Linked DNA regions of Homo sapiens: all the other regions are linked to region 1. The links are contacts of gene promoters, found by promoter capture Hi-C in blood cells and fetal thymus (Javierre and others, 2016). All regions are on one chromosome and are shown on one strand. The core of a region is centred on a gene start or on the middle of the fragment in contact, and the rest is flanking DNA. Distances in the headings are between cores, read along the strand shown. Region 1 holds the start of SOCS1 (suppressor of cytokine signaling 1). Region 2 overlaps CLEC16A (C-type lectin domain containing 16A). Region 3 overlaps CLEC16A (C-type lectin domain containing 16A). Region 4 overlaps CLEC16A (C-type lectin domain containing 16A).

What was found. Contacts are between HindIII fragments. The CHiCAGO score rates a contact against its expected background, and 5 or more counts as called.
Region 2: a fragment that was not itself captured here is called in contact with the fragment with the promoter of SOCS1 in region 1 in 1 of 17 cell types (activated CD4 T cells); the score reaches 5.2 in activated CD4 T cells.
Region 3: a contact is called between a fragment that was not itself captured here and the fragment with the promoter of SOCS1 in region 1, in 1 of 17 cell types (non-activated CD4 T cells). The highest score is 5.2, in non-activated CD4 T cells.
Region 4: a fragment that was not itself captured here is called in contact with the fragment with the promoter of SOCS1 in region 1 in 1 of 17 cell types (fetal thymus); the score reaches 5.6 in fetal thymus.

The regions. Positions count from the first base shown.
Region 1 is chr16:11,254,945-11,257,468 of GRCh38, forward strand. SOCS1 (suppressor of cytokine signaling 1) reads right to left here and starts at 1,260. Exons shown (of 2, transcript NM_003745.2): 1 at 1,135-1,260; 2 at 1-584. The coding sequence starts at 534. The region is part of intron 1 of LOC105371082 (a long non-coding RNA gene); the gene reads left to right. RefSeq lists silencers at 406-555, 566-615, 716-1,455, 1,706-1,905. The HindIII fragment of the contact is 18,048 bases long and covers 1-2,524 here.
Region 2 is chr16:11,012,586-11,015,109 of GRCh38, forward strand. All of the region lies in intron 11 of CLEC16A (C-type lectin domain containing 16A), which reads left to right. Among named protein-coding and RNA genes, the nearest start is that of CLEC16A, 69 kb to the left of the region's middle. The HindIII fragment of the contact is 3,806 bases long and covers 1-2,524 here.
Region 3 is chr16:11,037,425-11,039,948 of GRCh38, forward strand. It overlaps CLEC16A (C-type lectin domain containing 16A), which reads left to right. Exons shown (of 24, transcript NM_015226.3): 14 at 2,330-2,452. Among named protein-coding and RNA genes, the nearest start is that of CLEC16A, 94 kb to the left of the region's middle. The HindIII fragment of the contact is 589 bases long and covers 968-1,556 here.
Region 4 is chr16:11,089,413-11,091,936 of GRCh38, forward strand. All of the region lies in intron 19 of CLEC16A (C-type lectin domain containing 16A), which reads left to right. Among named protein-coding and RNA genes, the nearest start is that of CLEC16A, 150 kb to the left of the region's middle. RefSeq lists an enhancer at 2,000-2,089. The HindIII fragment of the contact is 2,081 bases long and covers 224-2,304 here.

The sequences.
Region 1 (2,524 bases), core at 10-2,509:
GCACAGCTCCTGCAGCGGCCGCACGCGGCGCTGGCGCAGCGGGGCCCCCAGCATGCGGCGCGGCGCCGCCACGTAGTGCTCCAGCAGCTCGAAGAGGCAGTCGAAGCTCTCGCGGCTGCCATCCAGGTGAAAGCGGCCGGCCTGAAAGTGCACGCGGATGCTCGTGGGTCCCGAGGCCATCTTCACGCTAAGGGCGAAAAAGCAGTTCCGCTGGCGGCTGTCGCGCACCAGGAAGGTGCCCACGGGCTCGGCGCGCAGCCGCTCGTGCGCCCCGTGCACGCTCAGGGGCCCCCAGTAGAATCCGCAGGCGTCCAGGAGCGCGCTGGCGCGCGTGATGCGCCGGTAATCGGCGTGCGAACGGAATGTGCGGAAGTGCGTGTCGCCGGGGGCCGGGGCCGGGACCGCGGGGCACGGCCGCGGGCGCGCGGGGGCCGCGGGCGAGGAGGAGGAAGAGGAGGAAGGTTCTGGCCGCCGTCGGGGCTCTGCTGCTGTGGAGACTGCATTGTCGGCTGCCACCTGGTTGTGTGCTACCATCCTACAGAAGGGGCCAGCCGGAGGGGTGGGCCATAGCGTCCGGGGGTGCGCTGCGGGAGAGACAAAGAGGTGAGCTGGGGCGCTGCGGGGCCGGGCAGGTGTGCGCCGGCCGGACAACTCCGGAGGGCGGCGCTCCCGGCGGACCCGGCCCTAGGGGGCGAGCACGGAGCACCAAGTCCGCGCGGATCCGTTCAGCCTCAGTGGACACAGCTAGAAAATGGGCTCTGTACTCCGCGGAGCTCTTCCCGGCGGGTGGGGGCTCGGTGGAGGCGGAGTCCGGCCTCCGGGCAGCACCGAGAGGGGGGCGTGGAGAGCAGCCGGTTCTGGCTCCAGCCGTCCGGCCCCGGCTCGCCGCCCCGCGCCCGCCGCCTGCTGGCCAGGCTGGGATCCGCGCCTGGTCTGGGCGATTTGGGCTAGGGCCGGAGAAAGGCTGTGCTGCGGGAGCCCCGCGCGCGGGGGGCGGCCTGGGTGGGGCCGGCGAGGGTCAGGGGCATCGCGGCCGCGACCCCATTCTGCAGCCCCCGAGGCTCGCCCGACTCCTGGCTGCCCTGGACTCCCCTCCCTCCTCCCTCCCGCCTCCTCGCCCAGGGCCCGGCTCACCTGGCGGCGGGGCGCGGGACGCCGCGGGCGGGACGGCGGGGGGCTCCGGGGCGCTCCGGGGCGGCTCTCGCGCATGCTCCGGGGCCAGGAGCCGTGCAGCTGCCACGGCCGCAGCTCGCTCTGTTCGGCGCCCGCCCCTGCGCCAGTCTTTTAAACCGGCTCGGAGGCGGGGCTGGCGACGGCGGGAGGCCCCGCCCCCTGCCGGCCCCGCCCCCAGCTCCACTTTTGGTTTCTCTTTCCGCGGTGGCGTCCGGCGAGGACCGCTTCGGCCCTGTTTCCCTCTCTTCTGGACCCTCCCGCGGGGCCCTCTGCCCGCCTGTTCGCACCTGCCCCAGCACCCGCCTCTCGAGGGGCTCTGGCCCCGACCCTGCGCCTTCCGGCCACTTCTCGGACCCCTCCTTCGGACTTGGCGACCCCGATTTTGCCCCGCTACCTCGGGTTCCACTTTCTGCCGCCAGGCCCTCTTGGGACGCGCCCTGACACACCCTCCTCCGCCCCAGCTGTCTCCACACCCGCCGGGGGCAGAGCCCTGTCCTCTCCTCCCCTGCAGCCAGATCCCCCTAGGAGGCCACAGAAGGTGTCCCCAACCCTGAGCCTGACCCCACCCGTAGACCCCCTCCTAGCCCCTGCTCCACCCGCCGTCGACGCCCTCAGTCGCCCGCCCTGCTGTCCCGAAGCCCCGGCCGGCCGCGGTCTCTGGTCTTGGCTCGGGCTTCCCGGGAAGCGGCGGCCTGACCACAGGCTTCAGAGGAACCCCTGGCGGCGCGGGCGCCTCCACCCCGGCCCAGTTCCTCGGAAACTGGGCGGGGCCGGGCAAGGTCCCTGGTGGCCTCGACTGCCCTCCCTGCGCTCCCACTACCCGGCTGCGGAAGAAACTGAGGCTGGGGAGGGGCTGGGATTTGCAATGGCTTGCAGATTGGGAGCTCTGGACCTGGATCTCGCCTTCCCCGTCTTCATTTTGGGGAGAGGTGCAGCTGGACGACATCAAATTGGAGCCCAGTGAAAAAATGGTGCATTCTCAGACGTGATGAATCCCCAAACCTGGTTTCCTAGCCCTCCTCTCCCCCGACCCCTTCCTCATAGATTTCCCCCTCCTACTGCTCCGTCAGGCATCTGCCCTTCAAAGACTGCCTTCCCACCACACACACGGCCGGGGCTTGGGATGGTGGGCGGTCGGTGGTCGGGGCTGTAATTTGCACACGTGTTTGTGATTTAGTGATTCCGATTGTCGTGCGAGGCCATGGAGTAGGTGCCTGGCTGCTCCGTGTATTTTTGAATGAAGGCATGTGAGGAGCCCCAGCATCACAAGGGGCCACATAAAAACCTGGCTAGGCTGGGCACTTGGTTACTGGCCTCACACTGGGACACACTGCCCTCTACAGACAGCTCT
Region 2 (2,524 bases), core at 15-2,514, 240 kb before region 1:
CTCCGTCTCAAAAAAAAAAAAAAAAAAAAAAAAAAAGAAAGATTTATGAAAACATGTAAGATAATTACTTACCCGATTTTTGGTGAATTAATGAATGAACAGCAGTCATGGTGGTGGTGGGTTAAATCAAGGAATAAATGTTTGCAAAGTGAAAAATCATAAGGAGCACCTCCTTCCTGCACGAGGTTCAAAACCAATCACAAATCTGGTAGGCTTGTTGAATGCTTTCATACCACATCATTTATTGTCATGCATTTGTATTATCGTCTACTTTATGAATTGTTATTTGACAATCATTTGTATTCATTTATTTTCCAACTCGCATATTTCCAGTTTAGGATCTTGTATGACCAGTGCCTGGGTACTTCAGGACGCCAGGTGGGAGCCAACTCTGGACAGGGCACCATCCTGTCACAGGACAAACTCACACGCCCCCACACTCACTCAGACTGCGCCTGTGTGGACATGCCAGGGAACTTAACATGTACATCTCTGGGATGAGGGAGGAAACCAGAATATGTGGCAAAAACCCATGCAGACATGGCGAGAACATGCAGACTCCACATAGACGGTGGCCGGGACTGGGAATCAGTTTTTTTCTTTTTATCCTCATCCATGTTATAATGCAACAATGTTGAATGAAATGATGTTATTCAAAGATCTGCTGTATTGTGTTTATAAGCTACTTGGATTAATCTGAGCATCCTTCCTTTCCCCATTCAGAGTGGATTTGGTATTCATTTAAAATAAATTTGGATTCAGGCTAGGCATGGTGGCTCACACCTGTAATCCCACCACTTTGGGAGGCTGAGATGGGCGGATCATTTGAAATCAGGAGTTTGAGACCAGCCTGGCCAACATGGTGAAACCCCATCTCTGCTAAAAATACAAAAATGAGGCCAGGTGTGCTGGCTCACACCTGTAATCCCAGAACTTTGGGAGGCCAAGGCAGGCAGATCATTTGAGGTCAGGAGTTCGAGACCAACCTGACCAACATGGTGGAGCCCTGAAAATACAAAAAAATTAGCCAGGCATGGTGATGTGTACCTATAGTCCCAGCTATTCGGGGAGGCTGAGGCTGGAGAATCCCGTTAGACTGGGAGGCAGAGGTTGCAGTGAGCCAAGATCACGCCACCGCACTCCAGCCTAGGCGATGGAGTGAGACTCTGTCTCAAAAATAAATAAATAAATAAAAATACAAAAATGAGCCGGGCATGGTGGCGTACACCTGTAATCCTAGCTACTCGGGAGGCTGAGGCAGGAGAATTGCTTGAACTTGGGAGGCAGAAGTTGTAGTGAGCTGAGATCATGCCACTGCACTCCAGCCTGGGCAACAGAGTGAGACTCTGTCTCAAAAAAAAGAAGAAGAAGAAGAAGAAGAAATTTGGATTCTTTTTTAAAATTTCCAGTTTAGGCTTCTTCTTTCTCATTCTCATTGATTTAATTTTCATTTTAAAAATGCATGGAATATTAGCAAACTGAAGTATCCTTCCTCCCTTCCACTTAATTCCTGTCATCTCTTATAGATAACCAACTTGATTGTGTACTGAAGAAGTCTCCTTCCTGTGTTTCTTTCTGTAAAAATAAGCAGATTTGTGTATGTTTTCTTCTTTTCCTTTCTTACATACAGGGTAGCATATGTGTTCCTTCCACTTAGCAATGTCTCCGGAAATTACTCCATATCATTTCTCAGATCTTCTTCATTCCTTTTCACAGCTGTGCTGTGTGTATGTACCATAGTTGATTCCATCGGTCTGTTATGCCTGGGCATTTAGGTAGTTTCCAGTATTTTGCAATTACAAAGAATACTACAGTAAATATCCTTGTGCATGTGCAGTTGCATACTTCCAGAGGTGTGTCTTGCGGAGAAAGACCTACAAGTGGGCTGCTAGGTTGTAGAGTATAACGGTGATTTAAACTTTCCTTTTAAGCTGTATTTAAGTGAAAAAAAAGTAATAGTTCAAATAAAATGAAAAATAGTACAGGTAACACAGAGACGTGACAGAAATCATAAAAGCAAGCAAATTAAACTATTGCTTCAGTCCCTTCAAACTCCAAATAGTATCATAACTGAGGTTCAGTCAGAGCCCCCTGGAAATCCAGCCTCAGTGCCTCAGTCCCGGCCTTGGGGACCATAGGTGGAACTCTGTATCCACATAGCCTACTGAGCTGCTTTCCTTGGTGGCAGCAGTGTGGCGCCCGCACCTTGGGAGGGAGGCTGGCCAGTGACAACAGGGACAATTGGAGTTGGGGCCCGGAGTGGCACAGAACCGTGCCAACTTCAGGTGTAGCACTATGAGGAGGTTCCCTGTGACCCTGATCATCAGGGGAGGTCAAGTCCTCTTTGATGTCCTCTTCTAAAGATGATACTCACTTTAGAGCAGTGAGAATCTGGGGAGCCCTTTCCCCCAAAAACCTGCTACCAACTGGTCCCATGCCCACATAGCACTTTGCATAGAGCTTCAGGGAATTGGCAGACCTATAAGGGTTGTTTCAGTACCTATAAGGGTTGTTTGGATAAAAC
Region 3 (2,524 bases), core at 12-2,511, 220 kb before region 1:
AGAAGTGTTTCTATCCTCTGGGACCTTCCCTTCACGGAGAGTTGAGAAAAGTCGAGATCATCTTGGGACGCTTTTCTTCCTGTCAAGAAAAGAGCTTGCCCCAGATTTCCTCACTGTCCACAAATTCTAAGGAGACGGAGGGGCAATGATAGGAAAGAAACAAAATGGACCTCTCTCTGGAAATTCAAGGCCTGGTCCTAGTTTGCCTCTTTCCATGGTTCTGTGGCCACTGCCCCATTCTAGAAGGAGCGAGCAGCCAGGCCCTTTCTGCTATCCTCTCTGAAGCGGAGTGACTGCTGATGGGTTATAAAGTTGGGCAATGCACCTGGGACACAGAGGAGCTTTTATTCCCCACCCCCACCCCCACCCCCACCCCCAGAACCACTGACTGGCAGTTCTCAAAGGGCCAGAAATTAACGAGTAGAGAGATGTTAGGACAGTGTTAACATCTCTGGAAAAAACAAATGCCAGAAAGATTCAGTTGACATTCTTCTTGCCATTCAATAAGCCAGAATCCTTCAGAGTTACACATTTAGCATTAACATGGGATACAGAAGCCACAAATTAAATTTTCACTGCAATGAAATTTTTTGAGGAAACCCACATTTGTGGGGCGTTTTGGGGCATGAGAGAGACTACTACCCTACTCAAGTCTTTAGGCCGTCCCTCACCCAGGTCATCTCCTTGGTATGACTTAGCCTCTTTCTGGGAGCTGGAAGGAATTCAGAAAAGCAAGATATATTGTTACTTCTTATTACATCAATGTGCATGTGCAGGAGTTACTTAGAATCCAGACAATCATCTCTTCAATGCTATCTTCCACTATTTTGTCAAGGTTCTAAATGAAGCGTCATCTGGTACTCAAGGGACCGTATTTTAAGAGTTCCGAGAAGTGCCACCTTTCCCCCTTTTGTAGAGTAACAGGAAAAGACGTGGTACAAGCGCAAATAATCCATTCAGTTCTCCAAGCTTGGATCAAGCAAAATATTTGTTTCTGTAAGTGTATTTTTGAAGAGCCACGTCAGTTGAGCAGATAAGGAGTTTGAAGACCTCTTACTCCAGGCAGGAACTGTTCTAGTAGCCCTAACAGGTCTTCTGTCACTGCAGGTCCTGTGTGCTTCTTTAGGAGAAATGACAACAGGGCTCAAAGTCACACACTTGCCTGTTCTTCTTTCCTTTCCCACTTACCTTCCCCACCCCCATCTAATATTTTATCTTTCAAATGCTGTTAGTTTTGGCAGGAAGAATTGTTGAATTTTCACTGGAGGAAAAATGATTCCCTTGCCTCTTAATGATAGATCTCTGCTGTATTGGTGTCATTGTATTAGGTTGGCACAAAAGTAATTGCGGTGTTCCAATTGCTTTTAATGGCAAAAACTGCAATTACTTTTGTGCCAACCTAATATGTGCACCTTTCTGTAAGAAAGGCTTAGCTTAGTGTCTTTCTGCTAATGTCACCCTCAGGGGCAGGCGTGGCCTCTGCCTCACCTGGCTCACAACTTGATTCCTCCTACATGTGTTGAGGGTGGGGCTCAGCTTTTGAGTTTGTCATTAAAAGCTTGAGGGCACAATTGTTGGGGATGACTGTATTTCCTTCGTGTCTAGTCTCTCTTTCTCTAGGCCTGGATTTCCTCAAGCGTAGAAGGTGCGTAATACGGGAGTGGCCTCAGGTGGCCCTCAGACCTGGCACACAGTGGCAGTGAGTTGTGCTATGGGATGGTGTCCCCTTTTTCTACTCCCTTCCCTGTGTCTAGGAGAATGCCACCATTTGGGGCTAGCTTCTCTCCAACACTATTAAGTACCTGCCAACCTCCCTTTTTAACAAAGATCAGGTCTTGGGCCACCATGAGTAGGCAGTCAAAAGTCATTGGCTAGCATGCAAAAACATTTTTTGATTTTTAAAATATTATTACTGGCAATTATTGCATCAATCCTGATTTCCTATTTATAAGAAATAGAAAATGTATGTTTTAATACATTTATGTAAGTTCAGTTTATGGAGAGCTCTGCGATAAGTTATGGCACCAACAGCAACCAGTCATGACAGCAGTTGCCAAGAGGGGACAGGCGCAGTGGCTCACAACAGTAATCCCAGCAATTTGGGAGGCCCAGCACTTGGGGAAGCCCAGGAGTTCAAGTCCAGCCTGGGAAACATGACAAAATCCTGTCTCTATTAAAAACTAAAAAAAAGAAAAGAAAAAGGAAAAGAAATCACCAAGAGGGAACATATGTGGCTGAAGTTGAGGAAACCCCACTCTACAGGACCTTTCGGTATGAGGAGGTCAGGTAGTCAGGAGGCCTCCACTTACATCCTTCTCCTCTGTTCCAGGCATGGATCCTGAAAAATTAGAGCGAATCCAGCTCCCCGTGCCAAATGCGGCCGAGAAGACCACCTACAACCACCCGCTAGCTGAAAGACTCATCAGGATCATGAACAACGCTGCCCAGCCAGGTGCCCACTTGGGGTGTTGTCTGTCCACAGGGCCACGCAGTTGTAGGAAGCAGACCCCACTGGGAGCCTGAG
Region 4 (2,524 bases), core at 14-2,513, 170 kb before region 1:
CATGTTACAGAACGCTGAGGGGTCAGCCTTTTAGCAACTCAGTTCACAAACACAGCACTTTGTCAGGAGGCAGTCCTAGCTGTGAAATTGCTCAAATTGCCCTCCATAAAAGAAGCTGCCCATCAAACCTCCTGCCAACAGCGCAGGGAAATGCCTGTTCCTCCCCTCTGTCCCACACTGGCCCCTGTTGGTCTTTGTCATCTGTGCCAGCATGACGAGCAGAAGCTTACCCATCTGCTGAGCATGTCCACCTGGTCGCCTGGTCACCTGGTCAGAAGTGGCTATGGGAATTCTTCCCATATATCCCAGGTGGCCAGGGAAGGGCCCGACTCAGGAAATGGCATCTGTAAGAATGATAGGGCAGCCTACTGAGGGGTGCTGGGCATGACTCGCAGCATGGGCTGGCCCACCCAGCCACCGCCAGGCACCGGTCCAAACCAGTCAACCCTGTGCTCTGCTCCGTTTTTTCCATCCCTGCCTTTGCTCATCAATGAGGTGCCAGAAAAGGCTTCCAGCGGTTGGAATTCCTGCCTCCTTCATGTGTGTTTGGAGGCCACACAGCTGTGTTCTCTCAAACCTCCACCATCCTTTACACTCAGAATATCTGTTTAGACATTCCTAACTCTGCTTGGTCGTTGTTTATTTTAAAATAGTCCCAGAAATACGCTTGCTTATTTAGTTCTCCACCAAACACTCCATTGCGTAGAATCATGCGTCCCCTGCATTCTGGTTCCCTGGAAGAACCGCAGAAGGGGGACCTGCCTCATACGACCAGGCTGCGTCAGTCATGGGAGTGAGCTGTCAGACATTCACTTTTTTAAAAAATAGAAACAGGGACTCGCTATGTTGCCCAGTCTGGTCTCGAACTCTGGACCTCAAGTGTGGTCAGAATTTCACTTTGAAATTCTTGGGTTGAAGAAGAGCTTAAGAATGGGCTGTTACTTTCCTGTGTTTGTGGATTCATGGAATGATTCTTAGGGGCCATTGTCAGGAAAGGGACCATGGACAACCCAGCTGGAGTTCTTCCATACCAGATGTCCTCAGGCAGCGGAGTGATGTTGATGGCTGTCTGCAGCATTGCCGGGGAGCCTGTGTGTGAAGCCTTCACAGTGGACCACTTTCCTATTACATTTCTCCGCAACTCCCCGCTTACCTAACATCCTGCCTGGAGGTCCAGAGAATCTACAGTCCAGTGTTTTAGGAGGCTCTCTGGATTTTTGTTTCTATTTTATTTTATTTAGTTAGTTTTTGAGAGAGAGTCTCGCTCTGTTGTTCAGGCTGGAGTGCAGTGGTGTGATCTTGGCTCACTGCAACCTCTCCCTCCCTGGTTCAAGTGATTCTCCTGCCTCAGCCTCCCAAGTAGCTGGGATTACAGGCATGCGCTACCATACCCAGCTAATTTTTTTTTTTTTTTTTTTTTTTTTTTGGTATTTTTAGTAGAGAGAGGGTTTCTTGCCTTGTTGGCCAGGCTCGTCTTGAACTCCTGACCTCAAGTAATCCACCCACCTCAGCCTCCCAAAGTGCTGGGATTACAGGCATGAGCCACGGTGCCCAGCCTATTTTAATTTTTTGAGATGAGGTCTCACTACGTTGCCCAGGCTAGTCTTAAACTTCTGGGCTCAAGCACCCCGCCCACCTTGGCCTCCCAAGGTGTTGGGATTACAGGCGTGAGCCACCAAGCCTAGCCAGGATTTTGCCTTTAAAGCGCCTAATCTCCTTTCTCCATAAAGACGTGAGGTAAGCAGTTTTCCCTCCTGTGTTTATATCTCCCCCAACTCACACCATGAGCTGCTTCTATTAAAAGACACAGGAGATGGATAACTGGTGTTGAAAATGATATCACTTATTTCAAAGGGTAAAAGGGAAGTTGTGTGTGGCTTTCAGTAAAAGCTCACAGGCCTATTCAGTATCGGCCACTTGATGAAGAAGCCTTACTTTGTGGTGGATGCCCCCGGGTCTGGCCCCAGTGGCGCCTGAGAGGCAGCAGGTAGAGGCAAGAGCATGCTCTGAAGGCTGTGATTCACCTCGTAGGGCGGGTGGGGCTGTGTGCCCTGGCAGCCTTCTGCACCTACTGAGTCTCAGGCCTCCCCCACCTCTGCAGGGCTGTCCTGAGGGGCTGGCACTGCACAGGGAAGGGCGCTGGCTCGGAGATGGGTAGAGTTAGTGGGTAAATGGGTACTCCGCAGAGTCTGACCGCCAGCATTCAAGCTACCTCTGCTGCTTGCCAACCAGGTGACCTCAGCACATGGCTTAACCTGAGCCTCAGGTTTCCTTCATCTGAAAAATGAGGAAAATTGTCAGGAAAGCTTTGAGCACGATGCCTGAAACACAGCAGGCCTCTGATAGGTGTAAGCTCAAGTTCCATGACTCAGGCTGCAGATGATCTGCTAGGCTTTCTGGTAACCCACGGGTAGCTGAACTTGATGCCTGAGCTCCCCCTCGTAAGTTACCCCACTTTTCTTTGCAGGAAAGGTGTGCTTAAGTAACAGGTACTCAGCAGGGGTGTTCTGACACCCTGGGACTG